Regions from separate parts of the Homo sapiens genome. Here regions 2 and 3 are each linked to region 1. Evidence: promoter capture Hi-C in 16 types of primary human blood cells and fetal thymus (Javierre and others, 2016). All regions are on one chromosome and are shown on one strand. Each heading gives the region's core, a stretch centred on a gene start or on the middle of the fragment in contact. The rest is flanking DNA. Distances are from core to core; before and after follow the strand shown.

Evidence for each region. The method cuts DNA at HindIII sites, captures the fragments that hold promoters and counts their contacts. A CHiCAGO score of 5 or more calls a contact.
Region 2: a fragment that was not itself captured here is called in contact with the fragment with the promoter of ITGA4 in region 1 in 3 of 17 cell types (erythroblasts, total CD8 T cells and naive CD8 T cells); the score reaches 12.3 in erythroblasts.
Region 3: a fragment that was not itself captured here is called in contact with the fragment with the promoter of ITGA4 in region 1 in 3 of 17 cell types (total CD8 T cells, erythroblasts and naive CD8 T cells); the score reaches 7.9 in total CD8 T cells.

Annotation. Positions count from the first base shown.
Region 1 is chr2:181,455,289-181,459,539 of GRCh38, forward strand. ITGA4 (integrin subunit alpha 4) reads left to right here and starts at 2,098. Exons shown (of 28, transcript NM_000885.6): 1 at 2,098-2,563; 2 at 2,908-3,029. The coding sequence starts at 2,367. RefSeq lists enhancers at 1,605-1,714, 2,435-2,624, 2,685-2,734, 3,095-3,144 and a silencer at 1,895-2,284. The HindIII fragment of the contact is 9,740 bases long and covers 1-4,251 here.
Region 2 is chr2:181,368,094-181,372,344 of GRCh38, forward strand. All of the region lies in intron 4 of LINC01934 (long intergenic non-protein coding RNA 1934), which reads left to right. Among named protein-coding and RNA genes, the nearest start is that of MIR4437, 65 kb to the left of the region's middle. The HindIII fragment of the contact is 1,318 bases long and covers 1,358-2,675 here.
Region 3 is chr2:181,389,498-181,393,748 of GRCh38, forward strand. The region is part of intron 4 of LINC01934 (long intergenic non-protein coding RNA 1934); the gene reads left to right. Among named protein-coding and RNA genes, the nearest start is that of ITGA4, 66 kb to the right of the region's middle. The HindIII fragment of the contact is 3,233 bases long and covers 595-3,827 here.

The DNA of each region.
Region 1 (4,251 bases), core at 848-3,347:
TGGCCTCAACTGGAGGTTTTGTAGCTGTAAACAAGAAGGATTGCATAGTTCAGAATAACGACACTGTAAGCTCATTGTGGAACTGGGTTAAAATCAGCATGTAGATCTACTAAGAAAGAAACACACTCAGCACTACTACAGAAAGAAACAGCCATGGGCCCTGATTGTTAGCTTTCTGGAAGCCATTTCATTTTTACAATAGATTTATCACACACTGTATTGACTTTTTCCAGTATAGAGTAAGAGAAAGTTAATATTCCTCATGTTTTGTCTGTTGACAGACTGAAAATAATTGCATTGAGTTTGGCTAGAATATCCTGTCATTCCATAAACATCTCAAACTCCACATGGCTAAAACTTAACCCATCCATGCCCCCATCTGCATGCACACATACATGCATATAACTTCATTTCTCAGTGTTTTTTTCTCCATGAATGGTAGCACCATTCTCTTTCAAGAAAGAGAAATACTTCCCCTTGGGATTATCCTATCTCTACTTATTGCTGCAGGGGCTTCCAAAATTAGGTTTTCTGTGTTCAGTCTTGCATTCACACTTCTGAAACCCAGAGCTGACCGAGACAAATTCTTCAACTTCCTGTCAGTCCCAACATAGATTTAAAATTCCTAACCTGGCTCATGAGGTTCACCATGTATTCCTGCTTCCCTAAGTCAGCCTCATATCACACCAACCTGTGTGTGGAGTGGCTAAATACTCTAGCCAGGCAAGCTCTCTCAGTTCTTCTACCTGGCTCCTCTGGAGCCCTCCTTATTGCTCATCCCATTCTTAGCCTGATTCAAGATTCCTGGTCCTTCAAATCTCTCTTTAAGTGTCCTTACCTGGATCTTTCTCTAGTTAGTACAAATTTTTCTATCTACCATTGGAGCGAACATTTTTTGAAACTTTGTATCAGTCCTGCCTTACTCTTGGTGGAATCCTGTGGTCCTAGTCAAGTGCCTGCTCCATGAATGTGCTGAATAAATGAATAAGCATTTTAATTGTGTATCTGTCATTAGTGTCAGATGTGTTATTTATTCCAGCATGGTTTTAGCACACAGACACACTCTTTGATGCAGACTTTTCTTTTCTTTTTACATATAGCAACAATAAAAAACTAGACTTTCATCTCCTGAAAATATCAGTCTAATAATCACCTATGGCTGTCTCTCTGGTTGCTGAAGGAAAAAAAAAAAAAAGGCAGGGCACACCTGGATTGCATTAGAATGAGACTCACTACCCAGTTCAGGTGTGTTGCGTTGTGGGTCTCCGGCACATTTCAGAGGCTCATTAGGACCCTGACCCCACACTGGGGTTTACACCCCTAAAAGCAGGTGTGTCCCGTGGCAACTGAGTGGGTGCGTGAAAAGGGGGGATCATCAATTACCAGCTGGAGCAATCCGAATCGGTTAAAGTGAATCAAGTCACAGTGCTTCCTTAACCCAACCTCTCTGTTGGGGTCAGCCACAGCCTAAACCGCCTGCCGTTCAGCCTGAGAGGCTGCTGCTAGCCTGCTCACGCATGCAGCCCGGGCTGCAGAGGAAGTGTGGGGAGGAAGGAAGTGGGTATAGAAGGGTGCTGAGATGTGGGTCTTGAAGAGAATAGCCATAACGTCTTTGTCACTAAAATGTTCCCCAGGGGCCTTCGGCGAGTCTTTTTGTTTGGTTTTTTGTTTTTAATCTGTGGCTCTTGATAATTTATCTAGTGGTTGCCTACACCTGAAAAACAAGACACAGTGTTTAACTATCAACGAAAGAACTGGACGGCTCCCCGCCGCAGTCCCACTCCCCGAGTTTGTGGCTGGCATTTGGGCCACGCCGGGCTGGGCGGTCACAGCGAGGGGCGCGCAGTTTGGGGTCACACAGCTCCGCTTCTAGGCCCCAACCACCGTTAAAAGGGGAAGCCCGTGCCCCATCAGGTCCGCTCTTGCTGAGCCCAGAGCCATCCCGCGCTCTGCGGGCTGGGAGGCCCGGGCCAGGACGCGAGTCCTGCGCAGCCGAGGTTCCCCAGCGCCCCCTGCAGCCGCGCGTAGGCAGAGACGGAGCCCGGCCCTGCGCCTCCGCACCACGCCCGGGACCCCACCCAGCGGCCCGTACCCGGAGAAGCAGCGCGAGCACCCGAAGCTCCCGGCTGGCGGCAGAAACCGGGAGTGGGGCCGGGCGAGTGCGCGGCATCCCAGGCCGGCCCGAACGCTCCGCCCGCGGTGGGCCGACTTCCCCTCCTCTTCCCTCTCTCCTTCCTTTAGCCCGCTGGCGCCGGACACGCTGCGCCTCATCTCTTGGGGCGTTCTTCCCCGTTGGCCAACCGTCGCATCCCGTGCAACTTTGGGGTAGTGGCCGTTTAGTGTTGAATGTTCCCCACCGAGAGCGCATGGCTTGGGAAGCGAGGCGCGAACCCGGCCCCCGAAGGGCCGCCGTCCGGGAGACGGTGATGCTGTTGCTGTGCCTGGGGGTCCCGACCGGCCGCCCCTACAACGTGGACACTGAGAGCGCGCTGCTTTACCAGGGCCCCCACAACACGCTGTTCGGCTACTCGGTCGTGCTGCACAGCCACGGGGCGAACCGATGGTGAGTAGAGTTGGACTGATGCGCCCTCAGCAGCTCAGAGCGGCGTGAGAATGGCGCCCTAGGGATTCCCTGCCCGATTCAAACTTTCCTCCCTCCCAAGGAGGCAGGAGGGAAACGCTGCGAGAGCCAGCTCGCTGGAAATCTGCCAGGGAAACTAACTTATCTTGGGGCGGCAGCGCCCCGGGTGCGTTATGGTGCAAGGTCTTGGAGCTTCGAGTCGGGGGTGGTGGGCGGAGGAGGAGGTGGGGAAGCTGCCCTGCTGCGGACTGCACATCTGTGGCGACAGGGAGCTCAGTGGGCAGCACAGCTCACGTCTGAGCGCACGTGCACGTGTCTCGCTTTAGGCTCCTAGTGGGTGCGCCCACTGCCAACTGGCTCGCCAACGCTTCAGTGATCAATCCCGGGGCGATTTACAGATGCAGGATCGGAAAGAATCCCGGCCAGACGTGCGAACAGCTCCAGCTGGGTGAGTTGGGTATGGGACCAGGAGTTAGTGACCTCCCGACCCCCCATGTGGACCCCACCATAGGGCAAGTCCTGGAAAGATTCACGTTGCCTGTTACTTCTGGTTTAAAGAGCATAAAGTTTTCAGTTTCAACTCCATCTCATCTTGCCTCCTTAATATAAAAGGGATTCCCTTTCTGTTAATATCGTTCTCCCTTTTCCTTATGGCAATGATTGCAGTACTCTGACAACTATGCTAGAGAAATTTCTTATGATACCTTCTCTTCATCTCTCCCCGTCTCTCCGTGTGTAAAGCACATTTTAGACTCTCTCAGCGTATTAAGGACAGGATCCAGCTAAGCCAAGACTTGAGAATTTTATTTCCATCTTTGACCTATCAACCCTCTTAAAGAACAGGCTAAGGAGCATATCAGGAATAGCAATTGGAATTGATCCCATATCCCGTCGTTTAACCTAAAGGCCTAAAAAAAAAAGTGATAGTTTTACTTACAATATACAATCTAAAAGAAAAGGAAAATTGGCATCTTCATCGTTAATGTAGTATAATTTTCCATTCCCAAAACCGTCATCCAAAACTCATGTTATATGGGTCCATCTTTTTGCAGTCATTTCTCAATGTCTCAGATTTGTGACAAGTTGAAAAATGTGTACTGATAGAGGGGAGAAGTTTCATGTTTCAAAGCCAAAGACAAGTTTGTTGCACACAGGCAAGTGGGGAAAGAGGAAGGAATATTAAATAACAAGACCTATCTTGTTCCAAAGTGTTACTGCTATATATATTGCTTAACTTTTTTCCCCTTAAAGCAACCCTGGGTCATGGTTGACATTGTTCCTAGTTTATGTATGAGGACTGTGGCTCAGAGTTGCAAATACCTTTTTAAAAGTTACTTAGCTAGTGACTGATAGGTGGGAACTAAAGTCAAACTAGGGTCTGAATGCGTCCAAAGTCTAAGCCATTTTCTTCCATGTATGTATCTTCAATGCAAATAAAATTAAGTGAATGGTTTAATATGTTGTCTGCTGAGCTGATGGGTCATCTGTAAACGGTGAATAAAATTGGTACTTCTTTATATTTCTTTGCTATAAATGGACTTTTGAGATTAGTTATTGGATCTTTAACTTCTTTTGTATTTTATAGTAGTCTTTGCTCTTTTTCAAACTGTGAAGCTGGTTCCCTTCATTCAGATGAATTCAGATAGAGTATAAACATAATGGAATTTTTA
Region 2 (4,251 bases), core at 767-3,266, 87 kb before region 1:
ATCATGACATTTCAGTTAACGACAGACTGCATATATGGCAGTGGTCCCATAAGATTATAATAAAGCTGAAAAATTCCTTCTGCTTGGTGATGTTGTAGTCATTCTAATATAGTGTAACACATTACTCATGTTTGCAGTGATGCTGGTGTAAACAAACCTACTGTGCTGCCAGTCATGTAAAAGTATAGCATATACAAGTATGCACAGTACATAATGCTTGGTAATGATAATAAATGACTATGTGACTGGTTTATGTACTTACTATACTTTTACCATGATTTTGGAGTGTATTCCTTCTACCTATAAAAAAATGTCTACTATAAAACAGCCTCAGGCAGTTCCCTCAGGAAGTATTACAGAAGAAGGCATTGTCATCATAGAAGATGACAGCTCCATGCCTGTTTTTGCCCCTGAAGACCTACTAATGGGACAAGATGTGGACATGGAAGATATAGTGATATATTTCTGATATATATATAGTGATATTGATGATCCTGACCGTGTGTAGGCCTAGGCTAATATGTGTGTTTGTATCTTCATTTTTAACAAAAAAGTTCAAAAAATTTTTAAAAATTAAAAATTTCCAAAAATAGAAAAAAGCTTATAGAATAAAGACATAAAGAAAGAATATATTTTTGTATACTCATACAATGTGTTTGTGCTTTAAGCTAAGTGTTATTACAAAAGAGTCAAAGAGTTTTTTAAAAATTAAAAACGTATAGAGTAAAAAAGAGTAAGCTAAGGCTAATTTATCACTGAAGAAAGAAAAAATTTTTAATGTATTATAGTCTAAGTGTAGAGTGTTTATAAATTCTACAGTAATGTGCAATAATATCCTAGGCCTTCATATTCACTCATTACTCACTAACTCACCCAGAGCAACTTACAGTTCTGCAAGCTCCATTCATGGTGTGTCCTATGTAGATGTACTATTTTTAATCTTTTATACCATGTTTTTACTGTACCTTTTCTATGTTTAGGTATGTTTAGATACACAAATACTTACCATTGTGTTACAGCTGCCTACAGTATTCAGTATAGTAACATGCTGTATAGGTTTGTAACCTAGGAGCAATAGACTATACCATATAACTTATGTGTATAGTAGGCTATCACACCTGGGTTTGTGTGAGTACACTCTGTGATGTTCACACAATGACAAGATCACCCTAACAACACATTTCTCAGAACAGAGCCCCATTGTTAAGTGGCATGTGGCTGTATGTGCATATATATAAATATATATATATACACACACACACACACACACACACACACACACACTGAAGTGTGGTGTAGGTATGGTAATTAAGTTAAAAGCCTGTAAAAAAAGAACCTTGAACAGTGACTGGCATAAAGCTTTCACTAAATGGTAATAGTACCATTATTATCATTATGCCCTGTCACATGTGGTCCAGGCCCACTAAGGTCTACCACTCTTACAGTTTCTAAAGAGAAGCCCTGAAGGTCATACAGCTCTTCCCAGGAATAGCAAAACGGCAATAAAATTCCCTCTTCTATCACCTTGAATTAGATTCATGTAATAGAAAACCCATACTAATAGTGACTTTAAAAAGATAAAAGTTTCTCTCTCTCTCGCATACAAGTCATCTGGAGTTAGGTGGTCCAGGCTGGAGTGACAGAAACAAAGGCATCAGAAATCCACACCATCCTTCTCATTTTTTGTCTCTCATTCCATTCTCAAGTTTACCTCATAATTCCAGATGGCAACCAGAGCCCCATTCATCACATCTGCAGTCCAAACATCAGGAAGAAGGGACAAAAGTTAAGTATCCCTGCTGAGTCAGCTGACTTTAAGCAGGCTACCAAAAGACTGTTTCGTCTCATGGACCAGGAGTTAGTAATTTGGACACACCTAACTGTAAGGAAGGAAGAAAAATGTAATCCTTAGGTTGTTTGCATTCCTATGCCAAATGAAAATTTGTTCCTGAGGAAGAAGAGAAGAATGGATACTAGAAGGCACCTAGCAGTTTCAGGCCCTTCTTCACTCTTGGTGGGGAAGGTAAGGAGTTATATGTGAGCACAGATATATATCCTTGAACTGCTAAAATGCTGATCGTGGGCCCAAATGTGGGCCACAGGCTGGCCCTACAAGCCATCCACTTTTACTGGTTTAATTGACCCAGGAATAAAAGGGTTATAGAGGAATGTTCATAATATAAAGAGGAAACCAGAAGATTGTCTGCTTTATAAATCAATGACCGCTTTGTACCCTTTAGCAATTCCATGATGTGGCTTTTTCTCTATATTTCTTAGAGCATTTGGCCTTACTGACCCTTGACAAGTTATAAATTAGCCCATTCATCCTAAAGAGAAAAAGCGATACCCATTCTCATATAGTACCTTTTATATTTCTTTATTTTAAATGTTATAACTTTTCAAAAGAATGTATTTTCTCATACAATTATGTTGTCAGCTTATTGAAAGTATCCATAGACTTAAGAATACATATTAGCCAATGTGGTTGTAAAATATCTTCCATGAGAATTTTTTCTAAATTTTTATGAGTACTAGAAATTGAACTTAATTCTTCTTAACTGAATAAACATAAGCAAATTGTTGCTTCATTTTGAGTCGAACATATAATCTGAAAGCAGAAAATTCGATTCTAACTTGCTCCTAAAGGATATTTGAGATTAGGAAGAAGTCATAAAAGCTTATCTTATTTAATTATTGAGAAAAACTTTTAACATTTTACTATTTTTGTTTAGCCTATGTAAATATCTGCAAACTACCTTTTGAGGAAGAATTGATGCATTTAAAAAATTCGTTAGGCCTAATGATCTCAAATTAACAATTACTCAAGGACTATAGATTAATAAATGAGATACATTGTGAAAATGATTTATAAGATGAAGAACAATATACATATTCTTAGTTCTTGTTATAATCATGTTGGAAATTACTACGTTCATTTCATATTAACCTAATGAGAACAGAAGCTGTGAATATGAGTGAAATGAAAAAATATAACAGCCTATTAGGCTGTTTCCACAAAGGACATGATGGAATCATTAAAACTGTTTGTATATGAAGATCCAAAGATGGGGAGGGAAAAAGACCATCACCCTACAATGGAAGTCAGGTTAACAGGCACATATGAACAAAGGGCAATTGACAGCGAAGCAAACCCCATAAAGAATGAAGAGATCATGAGTTCAGAAGTCAAAGGCCTTCACTAAAAACAGGGTCCCTTTGCTTCCCAGGGCTCCACCACCCTCCCTCCAGTTCCCTGACAAAGGGCTGTTCTTACACTTGCCTACCACTCTTTTATGACCCCACTTCCTCCCTGAAACTTAGTCTGAACTCCCTTTTCAAAGGGAAAATGTTTTGCTTCCCAGAATCTTTCTCAACCTAGGTGTGCAGGCTAGAAATTCTCTAGGAACTTATGTTTTGGCTCAGAGAATTCACATATTTTAGAAAAGCCCATTCTATGCTAGGAAAACTATTTGAAGTCTCAAAATTCGATGAAGACTGATACTGTCAGATGCTTGGAAATAGGCGGAAAATTTTCTGGGTCCTGAGACACCTAATTCTCTACCCTTTAGAAACCTCATCTAGTCAATAAAAATTTAATTGAAACTGAAAAAGTAGAACATGAAATTTTGAATAAATCTAACTCAGGGCCTTTCAGATGTTGACTGGGCCAAAAGCAAACATTTTCTAATGAGGAAAACCACATCCTTCATATAACAAAGGCTGTTTTCAAAAACCAGAGGACCAGCATGGTTAAATAGACCATCTCAGACAGCTGTTCAAGTTCAACAGTGAAATAATTAGACATTCCACACTGCTGCCATTTGATATGAGGTGTCCAGACAAGGTCTTTGAGGCAGGGAGACAAGGGTCGCTAACAGAAGACACAATGAGAAAAAAAAAAAAAATGGTGTGAATGGAATGAGTAATACTGAATGGAATTAAGATTCTGCACTTGCTTCACCAAAGATTTATTCCCAAAAAATCCCAAACCTAAATAAAGTAAGGCCTGGAATGCTGGAAAGCTTTCAGAGCTGGGAATGTGTGTGAGGCTGCCAAATGGGTCATTGTTTCTAAAAATGATATGTCCCAAGATGACAGCAAACTTGTTTTTTCAGACAACTGGCATTCGTCTGTGTGATTGTACCAGCACTTCCTTCTTTCTTGATTTGTCCAGAATCTGTTCTGTCCTGACAGGGCTGGAAAGTAATCCATATGTGTTGCCAAATTGAAGACTATGATTGTTTGAGGGTT
Region 3 (4,251 bases), core at 961-3,460, 66 kb before region 1:
ACATTTCAAAACAACTGCTTTCTCCTGGCGCAATGCATTAAGTGTAAGTGATGAGCAGAGAGCCTCCTAGGCATGTACCCCTTCCTGCATCTGTTTCTTCAGAAAGATGTAAATGCAATGTCCTATTTTTACCCACAAACAAGTCCACGATGAGATATTATTTATGAAATGGTGAAATAAATAACCTCAATTTAACTGATGTAATAGCAAATGTGATTAATGGAATCCATGCAAAAGTTTGACTTATTTATTTGCCTTAATTGAATGCCTAATCATGACTCACAGATGTTAGAGTTAGGTTTTTTTTTTTTAATATGGGCATAAAATATGCAAACTTTTTGTCTAGTCCAGCTTCTTTTGGAGACTTAAATTAATATTCATTTTGCGATCCACTTCAATTGTACTGTTTCCTCAAACCTTGCCCAACAAATGTTAACAAAAATGTTTTTCAATGAAATCTACTCACTAATATAAAAAAAACCCAGAAAACAATAAACCAAAAAAAGTAGCTTGAAGTTTTACTATATTCATTTATAATGATTACTCAGAAAAACAGTATTAAAAACAAATTAATATGTGCCCAAAAGGGATAAAAGCTTCACAAATGTGTTTATAATCTAAAAGAAGATGACAGACACAATGTATGTGAGTTTTAAGAAAAGGAAAAGAAAGAAAAAGAAAATTGCCATCAGATTTATTTAAGGTATGAGGCATCAAGGTAACTCTAGGGCCAGGTAGACTCAAATTCAAGATATTCTAGTCTTCGGCTTATTATCTTTGGTGCAGTAACTACAAACTTATTCCTGGTGCTATGTTTATTTGTTAAAATTCTTCTGTTTTATGAATTACCTGGATTTTTAACTTCTTATTTTCTATCATATTTATCTAAAACACCAATAATATCCTGCCTCCTAAGTTTTTCTTTGAGTTCTGCTGCTTTTCTTATATATTTTATGTAAGAATAAAACTCTGAATTAAATAAATACATTTAAAATGGAAACTTAAAATTCCCTACAGAAAAAAATGCTATTTTAATAAAAATATAAATAATGTGTCAAAGAAAAATTCTATTTTAAGTTAATTTGCATCCTTTGGATATTGGGAAACTGATCTTTGGTTTCAGCTTTAATTCTTACAGGAAGCAAATGACTATATTTATATAACATTTTTCAATATGCTTAATTGCTCCAGTTGGAGATTCTTGTATTTCACTAATGAATTACTTTTCTATTGTGAAGAAATGTCTCTCTCAAAGGACAATCATTTGTTACACCTGAGCCTTCCTGGTCCCAGTTGTGCCACATGCTGCTTAATAATTTGCAATGATTTAGGAAGATTGCCATAACCACTCAATTACGTAAACAACAGCTTTGGATGCAATCTATATAGCATGAGACACATCCTTAGCCCACATTTAGAACTGTCTTGTTAATTATATAGAATCCAGCAACCACTAGGTTCTGAGTATTTCACAGACAGCAGGTAACCTGTCCTAGAGGACTAAAAGTAGATGCTCATTTTCTTTGGCCTGTCTAGGCAGCTGCAGCATAACCATACAGTGGAATATAGCAGTGGGAAAAAAGAAGTCAACTAAGGTTTAGGAAACCTGATTTCTAATTCTGGCTCTATTGCTTTTTAGGTTTTGACTCTCAGGTAATGATATTCTCTGACCTTCAGTATTCTTCCCTTCATAGAATGTGTGCTACAGCTGATAGTTTCTTAGACATTTGCCTAATCAATGGCCCATTTCTACGTAACCTAAATTAAAGGTTTAAGATATTTTGCAAATTGTACCAAAATGTTTATAAAAAGTCTTAGTAACTTATTTTTATGCAGCATTCTGAAACAACAAGATGAAAAATCAGTCAATCACTGTAAGACAGGGTAGCTCATTTAAAATTGTGATTGTCAAAAATGTTAATTACTTCTGGGCCAATGAGATAGAATTGCTAGGCAATTTACTTTAAGTAACATAGCTTTGTGGCCAGAATTAACCTTTCTATAAGGAAAAGAGACACATGTCCATGTGTCCAGGTAATGAAATTTGAAGGCCAGGTAATATGAGTGAGTTCTGAAAATAAGTTTTACTGAATTCGCAATTATACCTTGGACAGGTCCTACACAATTAAGGTGTAAAATATAAACCCCTTCTGGTTATACTTTAGACTGTTGAAAATAAGTACAGTGTATTAAAAATATATAGTTATCTAAATAAATGAATTATCTTGGTACATAAATAAAACATTCAGATTTAAAGTAAATCCTTTTAGCTTCATTTATTTATCATATCATTTCACTAATAATCTACTTGTGAAATTCAGTGTTATCTTCATATCAAATTTTTTGCCCTTCATAAGTAAATGAGTATTAATTTACAAAGACTAAAATGTCTAGGGAAATATGACTATACAATCCTCTTTACCTAGTACCTAGTATAGTGCAATAGAAATTTGAAATGTTTCCCGATGCTACTCTGCACAGTGCAAAGATCATAAATTTTGGGGTATATCTAGTTTTGTTCTCAGATAATTTCCGATGGTTACTGGGTAATCCATTTAGACTTTCTAGGATGCTTTTCCCCATGTGTAAAAACAGGCATAATAATATTATCCATGACCTTTTCAATGTGTAATAATATGACTCATTCATTTTCAGGATAGTATGTGTCTATGCACATTCATTCAAGTAAATTACTATTCCTATGTCTATATTCATCCCTTAAGAACAAGAAGGGCATTTGCTAATTTGTTCAGTAATAGGAAGGGGAATGTAGGAAGAGTGGAAGAACAAAACACCATTTTGCAATTTTTCAGCAGGAACACTGTTTCGTGATATCTGGATTGCAACGAGAGGACTAGAAGTCAAGGGGCTAGAATTATCTGAAGGGTCACTCTCGTATGTCTAGAGTTTAATCCTAGCCATCAGTTGGAGGCCAAACTTCTTCACAAGATGGCTGGGCATCAAGAGCAAATAGACAGAGAGAGAGGGGCTATGTATGTGCACAGTAGATGAAGCTATATTGCGTTTTATTACTTAGACTTCTGCTACATTCTATGAGTAGAAGCAGTTATAAAGGTCACCTAGGTTCAAAGGGAGGGGACATGGATCCCATCTCTCAATGGAGGAGTGTTGATGTCACGTTGTAAGAAAAACATGTGGCATGGGTTATATATTGCTACCATCTTCGCAAAACAATATCTGCTCAAGCCAGTATAAGGGCTTTTAATTTATATCACCAAAGTGAACTTCAGTAATAGTATAAGATTTGATTTATATCTTTCCCTGTCTAATGATAGGAAAAATTGTATTTCACTGTTGTTTCTTTTTATAATTAAATATACCAAACATTGTTTCACAAGTTATTTGCCACTTATATTTTTTCATGATTAAAAAAATTATTTGACATAATCAGTATGCTCCTGTGGGTATTCACCTGCTTAATAACAGTTTATAAAACATCTTCAAATATTACACTAAGGAAACAACAGTTTCTCAGTTTTGTTGAAAATATTTCCCCTGGTGTGCCATTTTATTTTCACTTTGTTTTATTGCATTATTTATTGTTTATAAACTTTTTAATATGGTTCCTATATTATATACCATGCTTATGATGTGTTCCTCATCCCAGGATTATAAAAATAATTTTTACTTGTATGCTAACTTTGTTCTTTATAAATTATATCAAAATAAATTCTATATAAATTAAATATAAGATCTAACATTTTTCAGGCTTTTAACTGTTCAGCTTCATTTGTTGAAGTAATCAAAATAACAACTAGTTTTAAAAATAGTAGTATCCAAAGAAAACAGACATTATCTGTTGAATAAGCTTATACCTCCTCTACCAGTTAGAAATATTAAAATTATATATTGATTCATATATATACTTGAGTCTCTTTCTGGATGCTTTATCATGGATCTCTCCCGTAATTCACTATCACTTTTTTAAATCATTACAGTATAAAAGTACATTTTAATATCTTAAAAGCCCCCCTCTGAACGTGGTTTGTAATTCATGAAGAGCTTTTCAATAATCAGTGCCCAACCTACTTCCTCCCTGATGATCTCATTCAGGCTCATGTCCATAGCAACAACTTCCTATTTATATCTCCAGGCCACATCTCTCCTGTGAGCCTTAAACTCTATTACCCACTGGAAGGTTGAACATGTCTCTGTTTCAACTGGTCAAAACTGAGCCCTTGAATATTTTTCCCAAGTCTCCTCCTCCTCCAGTCTTCTTTATTCAAATAA